2 separate regions of the Homo sapiens genome follow, and region 2 is linked to region 1. The links are contacts of gene promoters, found by promoter capture Hi-C in blood cells and fetal thymus (Javierre and others, 2016). All regions are on one chromosome and are shown on one strand. The core of a region is centred on a gene start or on the middle of the fragment in contact, and the rest is flanking DNA. Distances in the headings are between cores, read along the strand shown.

Region 1 (5,492 bases), core at 1,879-4,378:
CAAATTTCATGATATCCTCAAGATCACAGATGACTCAGTAATGAAAGCTTAACTGGAACCAGTCTCTCCAGACTTCTAGTCTAGTGATCTTTCTACTGCATGGCATTCCAGACAGATAAATTAGGGGATAATCATTTAAATTCACTGAAAGATGTCTTTAAACAGAAGCCAAGAACAGAGCTCTGACAGGTTCTTAACCTGGGACTCATGAATAATGAACATCTGGAAGCCTCATGTCCCTCTCCTAACGAAACTGTGTGCCTATGTGTGTTTCCAAGGCCTGGCCTGTGGCAGAGCCCACACTCCAATCCATGTTTCCTAGTTCAAAGTCCAAAGTTCTGTTTACTACAGCACGTTTTCCTGTTCTGCAGACTATCTTTAAAAAGATTTCCAAGTCGGGCGCGGTGGCTCATGCCTGTAATCCCAGCACTTTGGGAGGCTGAGATGGGCAGATCACGAGGTCAGGAAATTGAGACCATCCTGGCTAACACGGTGAAACCCCGTCTCTACTAAAAGTACAAAAAATTAGCCAGGCATGGTGGCGGGCGCCTGTAGTCCCAGCTACTCGGGAGGCTGAGGCAGGAGAATGGCGTGAACCCGGGAGGCGGAGTTTGCAGTGAGCCGAGATTGCGCCACTGCAGTCCAGCCTGGGTGACAGGGCGAGACTGTCTCAAAATAAAAAATAAAATAAAATAATAAAATAAATTTTTAAAAAGACTTCCAAAAATATGTGTGTGTGTTCAGCAAATCTAGAAAAACTCTCAAAATTATACCAGAAAATCTTTTAATCCAAAATATTTTATAACTTCTCAAGAATCCAATGAACCATAGTTCAGACATAATTCAGCTCGCCTTATGCCTTATTTGAACATAGTTTGAACACTCAGCAGTATATGAATGGTTGAAGTATGGCTGCTGGGATTGGCCAAACTTAGCTATTGTTACCAGTGCATACTCTTAAGTTAGGTTTTCAGTCTCATCTGACTATTAAGCTAGGTTACAGTTCATTCACAAGGATTCAAATATAGAAGTAAGGAGTCCTTCTCAGGCCGTATTTAGTTTGCTTTAACAGTACCAATACACAAGCCAGTCCCAGCCTACTCAATCTAAAGAACTGTAGCCAAAAACACACAGGTGAAGCTTCCTAGAACTTCTGTCGTCCGACCACCAGGACTTGACAGGGCAGAAAACTAAGACTGGGAATTTAAACGCAAAAACACAAAACAAGAAAGCAGTAGCCAGGCAGGGTGGATGCTGAAAGGAAGTCCAAGCATGTGGGGCTGAGAGGAGGCAGGAGAGTTGTCACATCAAGTGGAAAATACGCAAAATATTACAAACAAGGAGAATTGTGAAACTGCTGAGTGAACACTTCAGACCTTTGAACTCCAGTAACACTTCAGACTTTCGAACTCCAGTGACTCCAGTAACACTTCAGACCACTGAACTCCAGTAACCCCTCTTCCTTCCCCTTTAGTAGGAGGGGATTCAACCTTGCAGTTTCCCAAACAGGAGGTGTGAAGACTCACAGAGTCCCCAGAAAGCGCTCATTCAGGCCTCTTTAAAACACAGGTGAATTTGCCATTGTGTGGCCTCAAGCAACGTGAGACATTTTATTTCAAAACCCTAACCGGTCACATAATTAAAGGAACACAAGCTAAGCCGTAATAAAAGCAGAAACCAGTATACATAAACATTTTGGGGAAATTTCTTGTAATGACTGACATTTGCCACAGTTCGGAAACCAGATTTACAGTTTTTGCTTCAGACCTGACAGCTGAGTCGTGAGGACTTGGCCTTCAAAGAGAAGATATTTGCCCTAGAGCGCTCCCAAGTCCTGAGAAAGCACAGAGGGAGCGAAAGAGGTTTCAGCACTAGGTGCTGCTACCGAGTCTCAGGGACAACTCTCCCCTAAAAGAAAACAGAACCCCACTTCTCTAATTTTGTTTTTCCTCTTAACAGTGCAATTATTTTTAAAGGGAGTTGAGGAGGTGAGGGCACCTTGATTTTTGGAACTGGAGGCTCGGATGGCATTGTACAATCTCCCACCAAAATGTATCTATTCTGGACCAGTGAGTCTCAAACTTAGCCGAAAGGAATCATGCGGAGGGTGGGTTAAACAGCATACTGTGGAAGCCCAACGCCGGCGTTTCAGATTCAGTAGGTCTGGGATGGGCTGGAAATTTGCAATGCTAACAATTTTAAGTGCGGCGGCTGCTGCCACCGGTCCAGGGCACACTTAAGAGAATCACTACTGTAACGGGCACTGTGTTAAGTGCTGGGAGTGAATAAAATGGGTCCCGCCCGCAGGAAACCTAGTGGACATCCAGGTGAAATGAAGTCCCCGTGAGTTCCACGGTAGACTAAGGGGTGAGTCTACCCGAGGGTGCTTTCGCGCTCTGGCTGGGTGAGTGGCAGAAAAAGCCACTGATCTCGGTCGAGCAAGACAGAAGATAGTGTGAGTCACGCTGAAATTTACTTCCCTGAGCTGGTGGGGAAACTGCAGTCCCCCTCCATTCAGGACCGATTAGGGGCCTCTTGCTGTGCTGGACATCGGACTCCCAGCTTCCTCTTCCCTTGAGTCCCGCAGCTTTTCCTTCCTTCCCCAAGGAACAAAACAACTGAGATGCAGGATGTAAACAAAAGCCAGGCTGGCGAAATCCGGCCGACGCGCCCTTGGAGCGCCCCCACCGGCGAGGGCATTTCCCCCGCCCAGCCCCGGCCTCCCGGCTGGACGCCCTAACGCTGTAGTCCCTTGGTCGCCCTCCCCGCGCCCACCAGCCGTGGTCAACGCCGGACGCGTCAGGGGCCCCGCTAGCCCGAGCCTCTGCCGGGGGCAGCTGCCCCCACGCACTTTCTCCTGCTGTGCGCAGGCGCCGCCGCTCCGCGCTCTTTGCCGGCTGGGAAGAGAAGGGTCGCGGACAACTCACCTATCGCCGGAGGAGGATTCCTGCCGCCTGCGGGCGCCACGGGCAGCCCGAGGCCGGAGCGGCAGTGCCAGGCAGTCAGCAGGCAGCAGACGAGTGCGCGCACCAGCGCCATGGAGGGCCGCGGGGCTGACCTGGAGGTTCGGGCTGTCCCGCAGCTCCACTCGGACCGTCAGGCCTGAGGGTGAGGCGGAGACAGAAGACGGCTGCGGGTGTAGACGTCCGACTGATCACGTGCAAAGGCAGATTCCGCAGCGAGTCAGTTCGCCTGACCTTCAGCTGCTGTTTAGCGATGATCTGTTCTCGTATTTCTTAGCGTCAGTGTTTGGCCTAGGAAGGAATGTACTTGTAGAAGCTCAAATTCCGACTCGTGTATCAGTGGTGCAGTTGATGTCAAACACTGACATACTGGTGCTTGGGGATAGAGAAAGACATTCAATTTAGTAAAAGCCAGAAGGAGGGAGAACAAGATCTCTCAAATCCGTGTGTAAAAAGGAAAAAGCAGGGAGTTTTTATTCTGCTAGAGAATAAGAGAGGGGGATTTTCAAAGAATCCAGGGGAAAAGTCTGTTTCTTCAGTCTCAGATAACACCTTTGAGCAATTAGACGTCCAGGCATCCGCAGCTGGTTGCAAAGCCCTTGGAGGTATTCATCCCTTCTGCAAACATTTTTGTGACCCTGAAGTTAACCTCTTTGTTCTTGACGAGGAAGCAGTACCTCAGCAGTTTATAATTATATTGTGGAAACAAGGAGAATATTGGGCAAAAAGCGAGTGGTTAAAATGTGCAAGCAAGCAGGAGCCTGATCAGAATTTTCATTATTTCAGTCACTAAAAAATGCTGGGGTGCTGAAATCTCAACGATCCCGGTTCCATTCTTGGGCCAACCTACCCCAGCTTTAATGGGTAGGGCTCCTCAGTAGAGGTGATGCAGAGAGCCCTGAAGTATCATGATTTGAAGGAAATCAGCAAAAGTTATGGATACTGCAGTGGATCTCGAATTGAAGTCTCTGAACTGGGAACATTAGCACCACCTGGGAACTCTAGTTAGAAATGCAAATTCCCAGGCACCACCCTAGACCTGTTGAGTCAGAAACCTGCTGGAGCCCAGCAGTTTGTGTTTTCACAAGCATTTCAGGTCATGTTAAAGTGATTGTGATGTTTGAAAACCAATGCTCAAAGATACGACGTTTTGTTTTTTGTTTTTTTTAAACTGCCGGGAAGAGAAGGGTCTTAGAATTAGAACATGTTCTGAAATCATGCTTTATGCATTCCAGAGATGCATGGAAATCATAAGTAGAGGTGGTTGATTTGATGCTTCCACGGAACTTTTTTGAATATACTTCTGGCAAAGAAGTAAGTCTATACAAAGAAGTAAGCAAAGATAAGTCTGGCAAAGAAGTAAGTCTATACAAAGAAGTAAGCAAAGATAAGTCTGGCAAAGAAGCCAGAATCCCGAAACTGTGCTGGATCCTGTATTCTGTGTTCCTTCTCTCACCGTTTATGAGGATGCTGATCTCTTGGAGATGACAAGCTAATAATTTAAATTTATAGGGCGTGGAATTCCTTTGCAGAAGAAAATGCTTTCCATAATTACTAACCTCAAAAAAGATGTTGTAGAGTGTATTTCTTTCCCAGCATAGAAAGCTTTGTTTTGTATCCCATGTAATTTAATGGGAGTGTGTGTCATGAAACGGGCTTTGAAGTGGGAAGCAAGGTGCTTCCATTTTCTGTTTTGTAAACCAAAAATAAAATTTGAAGGCCCCCCACAACCATCTGAATGGACGACCATCTGTATGGACTCTTTCCCCAGTCAGGGCACTCTAAAATTTAACCTGAAAGACTGGTTCAGGCCATGAAAAAGGGGATGGGGGGGTTGGACATGCGTAATTAACATCAACATAGACCATAAGTCTGATAAGAAACATTTAAGATCTGTTTTCTCTAAAGCCTGCTACGTGGAGGCTTCGTCTGTGTGACAAAATCTGGGTCTAACAACCCCTTATCATAACCCAGACATCCTTTCTATTGATAATAACTTTTTCAATCAACCAATTGCCAATCAGGACATGTTTAAATCTTCCTGTGATCTGGAAACACCCACCCCCCGCCCAGCTTCAAGTTGTCCTGCCCGTCTAGATCGAACCAATGTAAAAATCTTACATGTATTGATTGCTGTATCATGTCTCCCTAAAATGTATAAAAGCAAGCTGTATCCTGACCACCTTGGGCACATGTCAAGACCTCCTGAGGCTGTGTCACTGGCCCATCCTTAACCTTGGCAAAATAAACTTCCTAAATTGATTGAGACCTGTCTCAGGTACTTTTGTGTTACAGTTTCAAGTCCTGCCAGGGCAGCCGAAGTCCTGCTTCAGCTTTTGGATGATTCAAAAGCTTGCAAGAACCAAAGTGCATTCCAGTGGAGGACAAGATGGTCCCTGGAGTTTCTCAGTTCACAACCTCTAGAATATGGGAGAAAATGGAGCCAGAAAAAACTGGTGAGCTGGTGAGAGAAAACGACTGTAAGGATTAACAAAACAACTTAGGAGTTTTTAGTCCAAACATTTAAAG
Region 2 (5,492 bases), core at 955-3,454, 2.2 Mb before region 1:
AGCCATTTGTATGACTTCTTTTGAGAAAGAAAGTCTATATAAAAGAAAGTCTTTTGAGTTGATTTTTGTGATCAACTGTGTGAGTGATAGGTGTCTAGTTTCATTCTTATGCATAGGGATTTCCAGTTTTCTCGGCATCATTTATTGAAGAGAATGTCTTTTCCCCAATGTTTATTCTTGGCACCTTTGTTGGAAATTAGTTGGCCATAAATATGTGGACTTAATAATATTTCTGGATTCTCTATTTTGTTTCATTGGTCTATGAGTCTGTCTGTTTTTATACAGACTTTCTTTTATACAGACAAGAAATGTCTGTTAATGTCCTTTGCCCAATTTTTAGTGCAATTATTATATATATTATACTGTTGAGTTTTTTGAGTTCCTTGTATATTCTGGGTATTAGTCCCTTGTGGGATGAATAGTTTGCAAATATTTCCTCCCATTCTGCAGTTTGTGTCTTTGCTCTCTTGATTGTTTCCTTTGCTGTGCATAAGTGTTTTAGTTTGCTCTAATCCCATTTGTCTATTTTTCCCTTTGTTGTCTTTGTTTTTGCAGTCTTAGTCATAAAATTATTGCCTAGACCAATCTCCTACAGCATTTCCCTTATGGCTTCTTGTAGTAGTTTTATAATTTCAGGATTTACATTTGTATTTAATCCTTTTTGAGTTGATTTTTGTATATGGTGAGTCATAGGGATCTAGTATTATTATTCTGTATATGGTGAGTGATAGGGATCTAGTTTTATTATTCTGTATATGGATTTCCAGTTTTCTCAGCACCATTTATTGAAGAGGGTGTCCTTTCCACAGTGTTTATTCTTAGTGCCTTTGTTGAAAAATCAGTTGGCTGTAAATATGCAGACTTATTTCTGGATCTCTATTCTGCTTCATTGGTCTAGAGTCTGTGTTTATAACACTACCATGCTGGTTTGGTTGCTATGGCATTGTAATATAATTTGAAGTCAGGTAGTGTGACGCTTTCAGCTTTGTTCTTTTTGCTCGGCATTGCTTTGGATACTTGGGCTCTTTTTCTGTTCCATTTGAATTTTATGTTTTTTTCTCTATTTCCATGAAAAATAACGTTAGTATTTTGATAGAGATTGCATTGAATTTGTAGATTGCTTTAGGTAATATGGTCATTTTAACGATGTTTGTTCTCCTTATCCATGAGCATGGGATGTCTGTCCATTTGTTTGTGTCCTCTTTAGTTTCTTTCATCAGTGTTTCACAGATTTTTTTCTAGAGATCTTTTATCATCTTGGTTAAATGTATTCATAGGTATTTTATTTATTTATTTATTTTTAAATATTGCAAACAGGATTATCTTCTTGATTTCTTTCTCAGCTACTTCATTATTGTTGTTCAGAAGTGCTACTGATCTGTGTATGTTGGTTTTGTATCCTATAACTTTGCTGAATTTATCTATCATAACTAGGAGTTTCTTTGATGCCTTTACTCATCTCTTCTCCTTCAGGAACACCCAAAATTTGAATATTTGGTCACTTCTTTGTCTCATATGTTATGTAGGCTTTGTTCTTTTTTATTCTTTTTTGTTTTTTGTCTGATGGGATTATCACAAAAGGCATCTTCAAGTTCAGAAATTCTTTTTTCTGCTTGACTTAGTGGATTTTGAAGCTCTACATTGTATTTCTTATTTCATTCATTGACTTATTCAGTTTTGGATTTCTGTTGGTCCTTTTCTATGATATCTCTTTGTTGAGTTTTTCATTCAGATCATGAACTGTTTTTTCTGATTTGTTTGTGTTTTTAAATCTATGTCCTTTTGTATCTCACCGAGCTTCTTTAATTTCATTATTTTGAATTCGTTTTCAGTCAATTGATTTCTTTTTTGTTGGAATCTGTTGCTGAAGAATTATTATGTTCCTTTGGAGGTGTCATGTTTCCTTGCCTTTTCATGTTTCTTGCATCCTTGCATTGATACGTGCACATGTCATGTAACAGTCACTTCTTAATTTTTTGGATTGGCTTTTGTAAGGAAAGACTTTTTCCTATAGATGTGTCTATGGTGTTGGTTGGGTAGGGCACTTTAGCTTTGATTCTGGGTGTGTGTAGTTTCTGTATGATTTCTTCAGCTGTAATCAGCATCAGTGGTATTTTTGAGTTTTCCTCAGTGACTTAGGTTGCAATTGTTAGTGGAGGATATGGTGAGGCTATTTTGGGATGGGAGACACCAGTTGGGTAGGTTATTGAGCTCTGATGGTGATGGTGGTGGCAGGACAATTGGGCCCATCCTTGGGCCCCCAGGTGTATACACCGTTACTGGTATTTGCAAGTCCAGGCAGGCAGCCAGGCAGCTTGCTTAGGTTCCAACAGTGGCAGAGGTGGGTCAAGCAAGTGGGCATGTCCATAGGCCCCTTGGTGGCATGTGTGGTATGGACAATGACAGTAACAGTGACAGGCCAATACTCAGGCCCTCATGCACTACTGGTGGTTGCACATTGGTGGGTGGCAGCCTTTGTGGTAGTGGCAGGCTGGGAGGACCCATCCTCAAGCCCCCAGGAGAATTGCACAGACATCAGTAATGGCAGACTGTGTAATCAATCCCTAGGCCCCCAGATGACACGTGCAAGTACTGACAGGCCTCGCACCAGGCAGGACTGTTCTGTCCTCAGGCCCCAGGTGTTACACGTGGGTGCAGGCTGTGGTGGGTGGGACTGTTCAATTCTCAGGCTCCCAGTTTATTTGCACAGGTGTTGGCAGGCTGGGCAGGCCTGTCCTCAGGCCTCTGGAAAGCATGCATAGACACTGGTGGCAGCAAATGAGGTGCGTCAATTCCAAGGCCCCCAGAGAGCATGCTTTGGCACGATTGGCAGGTAGGCTGGGTCTGTCGTTAGGCCCAGCTGGCAATGACAAACCTACTGATGTTGTGTGCATATGCCAATGGTTCAGGCAGGGCAGGTCAATCTCCAGGACTGCAGATGGCACACCTGAGCACTGGAAAGCATGATGCCAAGCATGGCAGGCCTGTCCTTGGGTCCCCAATAGTGTACGCGTGCACAGGCTGTAGTGTGTGAGGCGGGGCAATCCCCAGTGTCCCAGACAGCCTGCATAGGCACCAGTGGTAGGTAGACTGGCTCTGCTGTTAGGCCCCCTGATAACGCATTCATATAGCAGAAGCAGCAGGCAGGGTGGGTTGGTCCCCAAGCCTTCAGCTGTTGTGCTTGGGTGATAGCAGCAGTGAGTAAGACTGGCCTGTCCTCAGGCCCTTGGATGACATCTGCCTGGACCAGTCACCAGGTCCATTGAAGGCACATACATGTGCATGGTGGCCCTTCTGCTGGGGTGACTGGGCTGGCTGTCAGTGGCAGTGGTGTTCTTCAGGCTCTGGGGAGTGCACATTTTGCCTTACTTCTTCCTGGGTGCATCCTCCCCAGTGTGCTGCACTGCCTGTTCCCCGGGGTGTAAGACTCTGCATGGGCTAGAGGGCTTGGAACGCAGCAGCACCATTAGGTTCAGCCAGCGTCTCCGTGTTGCAGCGCTCTGGGTTGTCATGGGGGATTATCAATATTGGCAGGGTTCCAGGAATGTGAAGATGCAGGGCTTTTGGGCCCCAGGGCAGGATGTAGGCTAGTGGGGGCTCTCAAAATAGCACCACGCTGCTTGGGTCTGGGGAATGTGTTAGACCCAGCAAGAGCTCCCATCTGGAACAGTTGTGTTGCAAGGACCCCAGGCAGCTCCCTATACTATTCTCAGTTCTCAGGACTGCAGGAGTCTACTTCTAGGGATCTCTCCCTTACCCTTTCCCCACACTGGGGAGCCTCTTTTGGCTCCTCTCAGGTCCCAGCTGGGCCAGCTGCCTTGTTTCTCTCTCCTTCCATGCCTCAGATATTCCATGTCACTTCCTTGCTGAATTCCAGTGTTCTCTCTTCGATGCTGTATTCGATCTATGTTTATCTACTTACTGTTTTCCTCCTTCTCTGTGGAGGAGATGAGTGCTGGGTGCCTCTAGTTAGCCATTTTGAACTGTCTGAAATTTTTTATCCAGACGTTAAAGAGTTGAGATTTATTAACTCATTAAAAATGTTATGTTATATCAGAAAAACTATGACTCATTTTAGTTTTACATATCAAAGCCAAAACTAATTTCTTCTAAACTATTGTGGAGAAAAAATACATAATATTTAAATGCCATGAAACAATTACAGCAAATACCTGACTTGTTTTTCTACCAATCTCTCAATTATCAAAATAGGTATAAAAATATAGAAATAATTTAATTTAAAAAATCAATTCCTGAAAAGCAATGTCTGTGGTGGAATTTTTTCTACGTCTGCTTCTGAAAGTTGTAGTGTGATGTTCATCCTGCCTTTCCTATTTCTTCCCTCTTATATGTGGAGGAAGAGAATTTGGAATCATGAAAGGAAGAGTTCATCAGGTGGAAAAGAGAGGAATACAATCATTTCACTTTCTTTTTCCACCTAAATCCCCTAAGGAAAAATCCAAATAGCCAACTTGTATGAGATAAAGTTAAAAATAAAACAAAACAGTATAATTTGTTTAAATTTTAAAAGTAATGAAAACCCAAATGCTTAGAACACAAAGGAAACCAAGAAGAGGGAAGAAGAGGAGAAAAGGAGGAAGGAAATAAGGGAAGGAAGGAGAGAGAGGAGAAGGGAGGAAGGCAGGCGGGCAGGCAGGAAGGAAAAAAGGTCTTCACTTGAACTTATTACCCAAAATAACTACTTTAACACATTGGTATATTTCTTTCTAGTGTTTGCATTTGTGTGTATAAAATATATATTAATAAGTGGCACTATTGCCAAAATAAAATAATAATACTCCTTTCCTGCTTTTGTTAATTAGTAATGTATCCTCAACATTTTTCATGCAACTAATGCATCTTTACATTATCATGATTCGCAGCCATACAGTATTTTACTATATAGTGATGTCATAATTTATTTAACTAATTCCATTATATTAAAAATATATCATTCATGATTTCAATAAAATATATAAAATATATGTTAATATATCATATATAATGAATATATTTTATTAACATATAACATGATTTTTATATGCATTCCTAATATGTCACAGGATGAAGTCCTAAGAATTAAATTGATGCAGAAAGGGTGGATGTATTTTCAAGGCTTTTGGCACACATTATCACAGAAACTTATCACCAATTTATAATCTCATCAGATAGTGTGAATGTGACAGAATCTAATTCCTTAATCATTCTAAAGAGATTTTTTAGAATTAAAAAAAACTATATATAACATCACACTTTGAAATTAATGGGCATATTCTTTTAAATGAAAAGGGCAAAATTAAATATTAACTGTTAATCCCCTTCTGTACCTACAAATTTGCATTACATGCTATAGTTTTCTTTCTCAGGTGAGGGTTCTGACAGTTTCCCTTCCTCATCTTTTTTGAATTTTCTCGTTACTTCTTCCAATGGCAAGAGTGTTCTAATAAATTAAACTTGGTCATAGTTAATATTTCTTAATTTTTGATGCTAAT

The links. The method cuts DNA at HindIII sites, captures the fragments that hold promoters and counts their contacts. A CHiCAGO score of 5 or more calls a contact.
Region 2: a contact is called between a fragment that was not itself captured here and the fragment with the promoter of SMPDL3A in region 1, in 1 of 17 cell types (M0 macrophages). The highest score is 6.5, in M0 macrophages.

What each region holds. Positions count from the first base shown.
Region 1 is chr6:122,786,894-122,792,385 of GRCh38, reverse strand. SMPDL3A (sphingomyelin phosphodiesterase acid like 3A) reads right to left here and starts at 3,128. Exons shown (of 8, transcript NM_006714.5): 1 at 2,928-3,128. The coding sequence starts at 3,039. RefSeq lists a cis regulatory region at 1,128, enhancers at 1,044-1,213, 2,317-2,816, 2,817-3,318 and silencers at 1,408-1,702, 2,808-3,102. The HindIII fragment of the contact is 3,428 bases long and covers 1,143-4,570 here.
Region 2 is chr6:124,953,410-124,958,901 of GRCh38, reverse strand. The region is part of intron 1 of RNF217-AS1 (RNF217 antisense RNA 1); the gene reads left to right. Among named protein-coding and RNA genes, the nearest start is that of RNF217, 6.3 kb to the left of the region's middle. RefSeq lists enhancers at 2,411-2,999, 3,000-3,589. The HindIII fragment of the contact is 6,758 bases long and covers 1-5,492 here.